Regions from separate parts of the Homo sapiens genome. Here region 2 is linked to region 1. Evidence: promoter capture Hi-C in 16 types of primary human blood cells and fetal thymus (Javierre and others, 2016). All regions are on one chromosome and are shown on one strand. Each heading gives the region's core, a stretch centred on a gene start or on the middle of the fragment in contact. The rest is flanking DNA. Distances are from core to core; before and after follow the strand shown. Region 1 holds the start of FANK1-AS1 (FANK1 antisense RNA 1). Region 2 holds the start of C10orf90 (chromosome 10 open reading frame 90).

Evidence for each region. The method cuts DNA at HindIII sites, captures the fragments that hold promoters and counts their contacts. A CHiCAGO score of 5 or more calls a contact.
Region 2: a contact is called between the fragment with the promoter of C10orf90 here and the fragment with the promoter of FANK1-AS1 in region 1, in 16 of 17 cell types (erythroblasts, total B cells, endothelial precursors and 13 more). The highest score is 19.5, in erythroblasts.

The regions. Positions count from the first base shown.
Region 1 is chr10:125,970,611-125,976,368 of GRCh38, forward strand. FANK1-AS1 (FANK1 antisense RNA 1) reads right to left here and starts at 2,663. Exons shown (of 4, transcript NR_102707.1): 1 at 2,644-2,663; 2 at 2,352-2,514; 3 at 2,127-2,235; 4 at 1,578-1,731. All of the region lies in intron 1 of FANK1 (fibronectin type III and ankyrin repeat domains 1), which reads left to right. The HindIII fragment of the contact is 7,061 bases long and covers 1-5,471 here.
Region 2 is chr10:126,666,023-126,671,999 of GRCh38, forward strand. It overlaps C10orf90 (chromosome 10 open reading frame 90), which reads right to left and starts at 4,671. Exons shown (of 10, transcript NM_001350921.2): 1 at 4,219-4,671. The coding sequence starts at 4,458. The HindIII fragment of the contact is 6,507 bases long and covers 1-5,762 here.

The sequences.
Region 1 (5,758 bases), core at 1,413-3,912:
GAGACCAGCCGGGCCAACACGGCGAAACCCCTTCTCCACCAAAAAATACAAAAACCAGTCAGGCGTGACAGCGCGCGCCTGCAATCCCAGGCACTCGGCAGGCTGAGGCAGGAGAATCAGGCAGGGAGGTTGCAGTGAGCCGAGATCGCGGCAGTACAGTCCAGCCTCGGCAACAGAGGGGGACCGTGGAAAGTGAGAGATGGAGACGAGGGAGAGGGGAAGACCGTGGAAAGCAGGAGACGGGAGAGGGAGAGGGAGAGCTTGAGCTTGAATTTTTCAAAATGTTGATTTTTGTCACCTTAGGAAAGATGTGTTACTTGTTATACATCCAGCATGGTTAAGTCCTAGTGTCAAGTGAGCCAGGACTATAGTCACAGATATACTTACCTCTCCTTGCAACTTTAGCTGTATTATAAAACTTGGGGGTGATAACATTTACAAATAGACTTGTTCATGTATTAGTAGTAAATTCAGAGTACTTTTCCACTGTGATATGTGCTTTCTGCCCTAAGTATATACAATCTTTTCAGATTTATCTATGAGCTATCTTGCTAATTGTTTCACCCACATTCTATAGCCTTTCCCTCCTGTTGATGCAACTCTTCCTCTTCCAGATTTCATGCTGAACCTAATGCAGCATTTGACTGGCTTCCTACCCATTCCCATAGTGTCTGCAAGTAAACATCAGTCAAACTCTCTGCCTTCTTGGTCTCCACTACTGGTTGCTATGGGCTTTCTATACCATCTTTCCTTTCCTGGACTGGGCTCCTGAAGGTCAGCAGCCTCCCTGACCTCGGTGCTATAATAAGTTGCCTTCTCTTCTGCTTGCACACAACATCTCTCTACTTTATTCAAACAATTACCTGGTTTGCATTGTCTCACTTTTTCTGACCAAGTTTTCTTGATCATTTAAAAATTTCCTTGGGGTTCAAGCCAGTTCACAAGCTAGACCTGATTTAAAATGAATAATTTAAGGAAATCTGGAGAACGAACTAATAGTAGATTTTTCACCCTGGTCTACATTTTTCTGAGACGGAGTCTCGCTCCGTCGCCCAGGCTGGAGTGCGGTGGCATGATCTTGGCTCACTGCAAACTCCGCCTCCTGGGTTCACGCCATTCTCCTGCCTCAGCCTCCTGAGTAGCTGGGACTACAGGTGCCCGCTACCACGGCCGGCTAATTTTTTTGTATTTTTAGTAGAGACAGGGTTTCACCATGTTAGCCAGGATGGTCTCGATCTCGTGACTTTGTGATTCGTCCACCTTGGCCTCCGAAAGTAAAGTGCTGGGATTACAGGTGTGAGCCACTGCGCCCGGCCGCTCCGGTCTACATTTTATATCTCTACTCTTAAGAGGCAGTATGGTACAAGGTTAAAAGTAAGGGACTTCTGAGCCAGATTATCTTCATTTTAATCCTGGTTCTACCAGTTATTTCTGTGTGACCTTGGGCAAGTTATGTAACTTCTCTGTGCCTCAGATTGTTTATAAGGGAGATAATAAAAATCCTTACAGCATATAGAGTTGGTGAAGTTAAATGTGGTGAAAGTTAAATGAATAAATAAAGCATCCACACTAGTACATGACCCAAATTAAGTGTCATATAAGTGTTGCCGCATTGCAGTTCTCCTCAGTGACGGCCTGTGACCTGCCATTTCTGTCGGCTCTTACCAAGGCTCGGTGCCGCCCCGGGCCTCTGCTCCATTGTCATAGTAATGTTTGCACTCTGCTAGTCACCTGTAAATATACATATTTAGGATCCTAAAACCAATATCCTAAAATATGTATATTAGCAGATGATGACAAAAACACCAGAATTTTTATCAAAGAGAAAGTAGAAAGTATATGGGTTAATATTGTAAGGATTAGGATACACCTGTCAAATTACTCTAGGTTGGCTTAGAAACAAAGCAAAACAAATTGGGTCCCATCCACTATTTTTTGGCATTCTGAAAATAACTAGCTCTTACCTGATGAGGTCATTCATTCATGACCTGACCATCCAGGTCCTATCTGGCAATAATAGCTTTTTGCAAAAAGCAACTCTTGCCTAAGTGGAGATTTACATCTTGATGAGTTTTGTATGAAAGTAAAGAAGATGCAGGAACATTATCAGTGGGGCGTACACTAACCATTGGCATTTCTGAGCAACGTGTTGCGTAGTTGTGTGATTTGGCAGCAGCTGGTCCATTGCTGACACGTGTGTGTGTTCACTGAGGCTTCACTCACACCTAAGGCTTCCTTGGAGAGACCATGCTGCCATTACATTTGGATCACTACCTGCCCCCAACACACACACACACACACACACACACACACACACACACACGAACCAACTTTCCAAGCACCACACCCACCTTTTCCGGGCTCTGTACCAGATCTGGAGGGGTGATGGCTAGAAGTGAGGGTTTTTGCTCCATCATGAGTAGCAGCTGGAAGTGGGCCTGTGCCCAGCTCTGGTGGCAGTGGGCCACCTGTGGCTGGTGCCAAGCTCACTGATGGAGATCTCTCATTATGTACCTACATCAATGATCAGTAAAGAACAAGCCATAAGAAACTTTTGGGTCTCTGGGAATGTTATCTTTTTACTCCTCATATAACTTCATGGTGAACTGTTTTGAAATTTGACATTAATTTAGAATTTCTTGCCTGTTCTGATCTCTAGTAGGATTCTAGGCTGGATGTCTTTGGAATTGAAATACTTGTTGGCTTCTGGTTATTTTGGGGGTAATCCATAACAGTCTACCATTCCTGGTGTTTGGTTTTAGTGGGCTGTGAAAAAAATCATTTGTTCAACACTGATGTCGTGATACAAGGACGTGAAGATGTGAGTCATTGTGACATCACCAGCCAGAATTGCTGGGATTCAGTGAGATGACTCACAGTAAGAGGTCAGTGTCTGGTTCAGTAGTTCCTTCTTCCACATGTATCCCTCAGTATCTAGAACCCTGAAATTGGTTTCTCTAAGAAAACCAAGAGGCCCATAAGGGTAATGTATACTGTTGATTTTTATGGTTATTTTTCAAAAACTAATATTTTAAACATATCAAAATTATTTCAAATGGTAATGTACTCAATGTACCATTTGGTTTAAGATGTTAACATTTTGCCATATATGTCATAAAGTCTTTTCATGAAGAAATCAAACCTTACAAATATACTGGTAAGACCCCCCTCCTGCCCATCATGCCCCCATCCCTTCCGTTATGTTGTTGAGGTGGTGTATGTTCTTCCCTTCAGCTTTTTAACTTTTACTACATATCTGTGCATTCATAAATAACATGTAGTGTTTTTTGCGTGTTATGTAGTGTGTCCTTTTGCAACCCATGTTTTCCACCCATCCATTTTGAATTGATCTATGTTGATGCAGGTGTATACAAAACTCATACAGCTAATTTCTTTTAGTTGTTGTATAGGATTTTACTGTAGGAAATATGCCATCATTTATTTAGATACTTTGTAACTTAATTATCACAAAACACTTTGTGGTATTTTTAACTCAGTTTCAGAGAACATATTCAAACCTAGGTTTATCCAATTCCATCATGCTTTCTATAAACATTTGGAAAATAAAGTTGGGAAAGTGAGCTTGCAGGCTGCCTCCTAGCATATCTCTGGGGTCTTCGTGTAAGGGAAATTGTTGGCTGTGTGCCCCACTGGCCTGGGGTGGCAAGACCAGGGCAGCCCTGTCTTCGTCAGTGGGTCTGCACTGCAGGAAGACCCCTGGGTCTTCAGAGGGTGCTGGTCAGCTACTTGGGACATTGGCTCAAGGGAAATACAAGATCCTTTTTTTTTAAATGAACAATGCAGTAAATCTGTGATATATTTGAGGCTCAAGAAGGATTGAGTTACAGGGAGAAGTTTCAAAGGAAGTGTAAGACATGGACCCAGCCTGTAAGAAACTTAAAGTGTAGCAGGGGAGACAAAACTAACATAGAACAATTGCATGCTACACAGCTTGGTATACACTCTACTGCACCCCTTGTTACCTTTGGCAAAAATGAGATATTCTGTGTTTTTCTTTGCACCTTGATTTCTCACCCAACAATACTTAGTGGAGGTCCTTTCAAAGCACCTAGTATAGAACAAATTCATTTTTCAAAGGGTGTATAATGTTCCACTTTATGGACATAGAATAACTTATTTGTCCAGTCTCTTATAAATGGGTCATCTTTTGTTTTGTTTTGTTGTAAACTGCTGAAAACTGTAGTAATGTCCTATGTGTCTTTGTGTGTATCTATTTTTATTTTTTTAATTTTTATTTTAGGTTTGGGGGTACGTGTGAAGGTTTGTCACACAGATAAATATGAGTCACAGGAGTTTGTTGTACATAGTATTACATCACCCAGGTAATACGCTCAATACCCAATAGTTACCTTTTCTGCTCCTCTCACCCTCCCGCTTCAGGTAGACCCCAGGGTCTGTTGTTTCCTTCTTTGTGTTCCTAAGTTCTTCTCATTTAGCTTCCTCTTATAAAAGAGAACATGCGGTATTTGATTTTGTGTTCCTGCATTAGATTGCTAAAGATGATAGCCTCCAGTTCCATCCATGTTCCCGCACAAGACCTGATCTCTTTCTTTTTTATGGCTGCATAATATTTCATAGTGTATATGTACCACATTTTCTTTATCCAGTCTGTCATTGATGGACATTTAGGTTGATTCCATGTCTTTGCTATTATGAACAGTCCTGCAGTGAACATTCACATGCATGTGTGTTTATGGTAGAATGGTTTATATTCCTCTGGGTATATACCCAGTAATGGGATTCCTGGGTCAAATAGCAGTTCTGGTTTTAGCTCTTTGTGGAATTGCCATACTGCTTTCCACAATCGTTGAACAAATTTATCCCACCAACAGTGTATAAAGGTTCCCTTTGTGACCTTGCCAGCATCTATTATTTTTTTGGCTTTTTAATAATGGCCATTCTGACTGGTGTGAGATGGCCTCTCTTTGTGGTTTTGATATGCTTGTTGGCCACATGTATGTCTTCTTTTGAGAAGTGTCTGTTTATGTCTTTTGCTCAATTTTTAATGGGGTTGTTTATTTTTCTCTTGTAAATGTGTTTAAGTTCTTTATGGATGCTGGATATTAGACCTTTGTCAGATACATAGTTTGCAAATATTTTCTCCCATTCTGTGCCTTTTAAGTGGGGCATTTAGCCTGTTTACATTCAAGGTTAGTATTGATATGTGTGGATTTGATCCTGACATTGTGCTGTTTGATCATATCATTGATCCTGTCAGCTGGTGCTGTCACTGATCCTGTCATTAGCTGGTTATTATGTTGGCTTGTTTGTGTGGTTGCTTTACAGTGACACTAGTCTGTGTGTTTAAGTGTATTTTTGTATCAGCTGGTAGCGGTCTTTCCTTTCTATATTTACTGTTCCTTCCAAGATCTCTTATAAGGCAGGTCTGGTAATGAAGTTCCTCAACATTTGCTTACCTGAAAAGGATCTTGTTTCTCCTTCACTTAGGAAGCTTAGTTTGGCAGGATATGAAATTATTGGTTGAAGATTTTTTTTTTTTTTTTAAAGAATGTTGAATATAGGCCTCTAATCTCTTCTGGCTTGTAGGGTTTCACTGTTAGCCTAAGGGGATCCCTTTGTAAGTGACCTGCCCTTTCTCTCTAGCTGCCTTTAACATTCTTTCATTTCAACGTTGGAAAACCTGACAATTATGTGTCTTGAAGATGATCTTCTTGTGTAGAATCTTGCAGGAGTTCCCTGTATTTCCTGAGTTTGACTGTAGGTCCCTCTAGTAAGG
Region 2 (5,977 bases), core at 3,421-5,920, 700 kb after region 1:
GACATCAGGTAGAGTCCTCAGAAGGGTCATGTTGTAACACTGGGACTAAATTAGCCCACATCAGGGTTTCTAGGCCTCAACACCATGGACATTTTCAGCTAGGTAGTTCTTTGTTGCGGGGTTGAAGGTGGCACTGCCCTGTGCATTGTAGAATATTAGCTGCATCTCTGGCCTCTACCCATTAGCCACCAGTAGCATTTTCCCCAAGGTTGTCACAACCAAACTGTCTGCAGACATTACCAAATATCCCCAGGGTATTTCAACAAGCCCAAACAAATCGAAAAAATAAGCCTCAAAAGGGTCAAGCTGTTTTCAAATAACTTAACAAAATCAAACACCAAACAATGTAAGATTCACAATATCCAAAATTCAATTTTAAAATTACCTAGTGTGCAAAGAAGCATGACCCATAATCAGGAGGAAAATCAATCACTAGAAATGATGCAGAAATAACAGATGCTGATAAAATGAGGAGACAAGGACCTTAAAGCAGCTCAAGAAGGTAGAGGAAAGCATGAGCACGAGGAGGGGTGTGGGAGATGAAAGGAGTCACCTGGTAAGTGTTCTTCCTTGTTTGTCATTGCCAATGCCTTCACGCTGCTCTGGGCCCACTGAGTCACAATGGCCATGGCTGCACCAGAGGCATATGCAGTTCTTTAAAAAGTTCACTATGAGGCCAGGCACGGTGGCTCACACCTGTAATCCCAGCACTTTGGGAGATCAAGGCGGGCGGATCATGAGGTCAGGAGTTCGAGACCAGCCTGGCCAATATGGTAAAACCCCATCTCTACTAAAAGTACAAAAAAAATTAGCCGGGCATGGTGGCGGGTGCTTGTAATCCCAGCTACTCAGGAGGCTGAGGCAGGAGAATCATTTGAACCCGGGAGGCGGAGGTTGCAGTGAGCCAAGATCGTGCCACTGCACTCCAGCCTGGGCGACAGAGTGAGACCCTGTCTCAAAAAAAAAAAAGTTCACTATGATTCTACTCAGCCAGAATTCAGCACTACTGGCTAAACCCAATTTTTTTTTGTTTGTTTTGTTTTGTTTTGCTTTGGAAACAGAGTGTTGCTCTGTCGCCCAGGCTGGAGTGCAGTGGCACAATCTCGGCTCATTGCAAGCTCTGCCTCCCAGATTCATGCCATTCTCCTGCCTCAGCCTCCCGAGTAGCTGGGACTACAGGCACCTGCCACCACACCCAGCTAATTTTTTGTATTTTTAGTAGACACAGGGTTTCACTGTGTTAGCCAGGATGGTCTTGATCTCCTGACCTCGTGATCCACCCACCTCAGCCTCCCAAAGTGCTGGGATTACAGGCGTGAGCCACCACACCCAGCTGACTAAACCCAATTTTTTAAAAGAATGAATAGAAAAAGGAGATGGAAATGATGATGGAGATTTTGAAAAATATCAGGAGGCATGGCCAAATAGTGATTTCCAAATACAAAATCTTTCTTTGGCTCATTTAGTGATTAAAGGCATTAGAAACTGTCGCCTGTCAGAGGACAGATGGGTGAGCCTTAGCTGATGCATCTCAGCCTGCACCTACCATCAGAAAGGTCTCCACAATCAATCAGGAGATGCTCACTTACATTCACACCATAGGAGATATGAGCACATCACTGAATTCTATGAGGTTTCCCTTCCCAAGCTGGCAAAACCACGCAAGCTCTGCTGCATAGAGAGTCTCAGAAAGTGTCCCTGCTTGCCATGCGGACAGAAGGCAGAGCTCCAATATAGGCTCATCCCATCCTCCAGTTATGGCTACATTGATGTCTGAAATTCATCAAAAACATACGCAGGGGGAGACATGCCCTTAACAAACTGTATTTCTCAGAGTTTGGGGCATTTTTAGAGTGTGCAGACATCAAGTCTTTGAAAATATGAACCCAGGGACCTTCAGCACCCCTCACCACCACCTGCTCCCAATCCTGGTAACTTTCAGTGCAGCAGGCTCTGCTCCTTGTTCCTATCAGAAGGAAGTCTATGTAAAGGTATGCGTGTGGCTGGATCATCCCTGGGCTGCAGTTCAGCTGGTGAGAGGTGGCTTCTCCAACCATTAAGACAGCTCAGGACTAAGACCATGGTTTTGGAAAAATTTGAGTCTGTAGGTTTTACACTAAAATCAAGCAGATTTGCAGGACCTCATGGGAAGAACTTGAAATCCATAAGGTTTTTACAGAAATAAAATCTCCAAAACTCACTTTTGCCAGATAACCAGCCAGTTTCTTTAATCTAGCACCTTTGTGCATTGAGAGTTCATCCCAGAGACCCTGCTCATTTGTCAGCCCATTGAGTACTTTGTGGTCAAAGCCCAGGGCAGGTTAACCAATGGCCTTGGAGCTGATAGAAGAGAAGGAGTCACTGGGCCAAGTCCAAAGGCAGAACCCAGAAGTGCTAATTGGGGTCTCTCAGCAGTTCAGCTTGGGAAATTGAGCAAGGAAGTTTCCTTCTTCCTAAATTTCCTAATCTAAATAATGCTGAGATGTCATGGTAGGAATAACATGAAGAATAGTTTAATGGATGAGGAATATTTTAAAATCGGAAATGTTTGCTACCAAAAGTCAAGAGCAGACCTTGAAGTTCAGAGGGACAGGGGGTGCAAATCCCATCTGATGGTTTTCAAACTTGGCCCGCCCTAGAGCTGAGGAGGCAGGCCCTTCCTGGACAACTTGGGGAGTCATGGACACAGTGAGGCCCATCCAGCCCATCAGACTGATTGTGGGTGGGGGCTTGGATCTGGCATTCATTTTAACATTAGTGGCTCGGTTGTTGGCTGTCAATAGTAGCAGCGTATTGGGCCCTGAAAAAAATGTAGCTGTGACTGTCATATATTTGAAGTTTTTTGTAACCTCCTAAAAAGGTGTACTTTTTTCATATTGTTTTAATCAGTGTGGCTATAGGAATCAGTGAAGTTTTATATACGAAGAAAACGAGAATGCCAGATCTACCATTTGCTACATAGGGTTTAAAATGAAGCTATGAACAATGCATAATAATGTAATTCAACAAGTTTTTCTCTCTCTGGAGGACTGGAAAATAACCTCAGTGAAAATTATGCAATGATAAAATTCTGTCCCCATCTGATTAATTACTTGTGAATAATGACATCTCTGATTTCTTTCAATTATATTCTAATTGCACACCTTTTGCTCCAGTTGATTGGGCAATGAAGTAATGAACAACTATTACTGAATTTAATTAGCACCATTATTTCTGTGGCCTTTACATCTCTGTTGTGAACATGGAAATTCACACTCCCAGGGCTGGAACTGGAAGAAGCCAGCCTTGAACCTTGAAAAACCTGTTCCTTCCACACTGTGCTGGCTTCCTTCTGCCCAGCCTGGGGAACAAAGACCTGGCGTATTTGCCAGTATTCATGGGAAGGCTTTCCTAATAACAGCATCAATATTCAGAAAGGTTACCTTTTCATAAGGCATTAGCAATTTGCATGTTACATCTATCAAAAGAGATGGGTAAATGAGCTATATGGGAGTCAATTACAATGTCGTTCATAATTTATTCCATGTACAATAAACAGCCGATCAGATTTCATGCGTGTTTACTTTCTGAAAAGATAACTGCTTGTGGCTGATACTAGTTGCAGAATACAAATATGTTTCAGAGTAATGTGTTTATCTCACTTTGACATTTTAAATCTCCAAAGTTCTCTCACTCTCTGTCTTTTTTTTTTTTTTTACAAAGTTGTCTCTGCTTGAAAATTAGAGCTTGCTCTCAAAAATAAAAGATCATTCTTACTGGCCTAACTTGAATCATTCTATTTTAACTCGATGAAGGCACGTCATACATATTCTCCTACAAAACGCAACAGGAAACAAGTAGGAATTTGCTTTTAAAGACAGGTGATTGCAAACATACAGAGCTAAGAATATTTAACTCACAGAAACATGCTGTAGTTTCTAAACATGGATACAAATTACCCAACTCAGTAGTCTTTGGAGCACCAATAAAGTTTGTAAATGCAGACATGTGTCATCGTAAATTAACTTCATCCGATATACTTTCCCCCTCCCCCATATTTCAAAAACTAAAATAAATTCAGAAATGAAGAAGGCTTTTCCAAATCCCTTAGGGAAGTCTACAAACACAAATGATTAATTTATTAGACCAGATAAAACACCTGAACTGTCTGATGAGCAACACGTCCATCTCTCTCTGAGTCAAGCGTGTACCCACTCACCCACCCAGGCTCAGCCATACCTCATATCTGCTGGCTGTCTGCTCAGCCGTCTTCAAGCCTTGACACATATGGATGATACAAACTTTGGCTCTTCTCTGGGAGGGAAACCAGTTACTCTTCACAAAATCCATGACCATCACATGGTTTTTCAACTCTGTACTAAATGTTTTTATCTGGAAAGTCCGATGCACGGCCGTTTCTGTGTAGCGGGCAGCATACCCCTGCGGATGAGTTTTTGTAGGAATTCCAGAGTGCTGCATGAGACTCAGTATCTTGTGACTTTAGCTAGTGAGACTGGCAAACACAATTTTCTTTGTTTAACCCAGGTATTGAGTGCAACAGGAGGGACTTGGGCAGTGCCCCAGCTCGGACCTGTCCCAGTGTTTTCCAACTCCAGAGCTAGTTGTCTCAATATCCCAGCTACATTTGTGAAGGATGTGGATGTGGGAACCTCAGGGGTGACCTTTACGTGCCAAAAAAAAAAAAAAAAAAAAAAAAACTTCTTGTTGTGGTCTGTTTCCAGCCTCACGCCTGAGCTCTCGGGTCACTCAAAGTCTTCTCTGATTTCAAAGAAGTATTTCTCTTTCCACTGCATTGAAGTTTTGAACACAGAATTCACCCAGTTACTGAGAGATTCAATATGTTTGTCAGTCTCTACCCCCTCAAATCCAAATAAATTATTTACAGGGCTCTGTACAAAGGAACTAGGAGGAATAATCGTTGCTTTTTAGAATTCCTGCTTTTACTTGCCAGGACTGAAAGGAACAAGTGCAGGCTGCCTACCAATACAAAGAGCGTCCTCAGCCCTGGAGAAGAAAACATTCAAGTGAAAAAGAGAACTCCCAGCGCAGAAGCAGCAACAGCTGCAAGAGGGCATCGGAAAAACAGCGCATCACGTGGGGGCTGGGGGTGGAGTCCACTCGCCTAGAAGGGGGCTCTGGTCCTGGGTCAACCATGGGAAGTTCCCTCACCACCCTGAGTCTCAGTTTACCAGGAGGAAGACTGGAAGGAAAATACCCCATCTGCCACTCACAGGGTTATTGTTAGGATCTGGTGAGCAAAACAGTGAAACAACAACACAGAATAGAGTCACGTTAGGCATCATTTTGAAAGTACAGTTGCGCGTTCTCTACCCAAATTATTTTGCACAGTGTTCGCTACACATATGATAACGGAGATTAACACAATGCTAATAATTATCAGATTCTAAATTTCAAGTCAATTAGAATTGCAGATCCATGGTATATGCCTCACTTTATTTAATGTTTTGATGCCATTTCTATTAACCTAGTAATTTAGAAGTGAAAATGGCAAGCCTTGGATCAAGGGTGTGTGCCAAGAGGAAGCAGATGACAGCATCGTGGCTGTGCTCCAAGTCCAGACACAGAACTCTTCTCCACAGGTGACTTTCTCTTGGCAGAGACACCCCCTTGAATAATTAACTCACCTGCCCCACATTGAAAGCCATGGGAGAGGCTAAAGGAAGAAGAGCCTCCAGATAACTTTCCTGAAAACAGAGCTGCAGTCCTAGCCCAGAACTGTGAGACTTCCTGCTGTGGGTCGAAGCTTTGCATGTCACACTCAGCAGGGCTAGGACTTGGGGGCTAAAATGCTGAACTTCCACCTTCGGAGCAATGGAAGTATTGAAGATGGGAACTACAATGAAGGAGGAGACAGAAAAGACTTTAGAGATCATTTAGGCCAACATTCTCATTTGAGTGTTAAAGTAGAAGACCTACAGAGACTAAATGCTGGCTCAAGATCACACAGTGAAGTGGA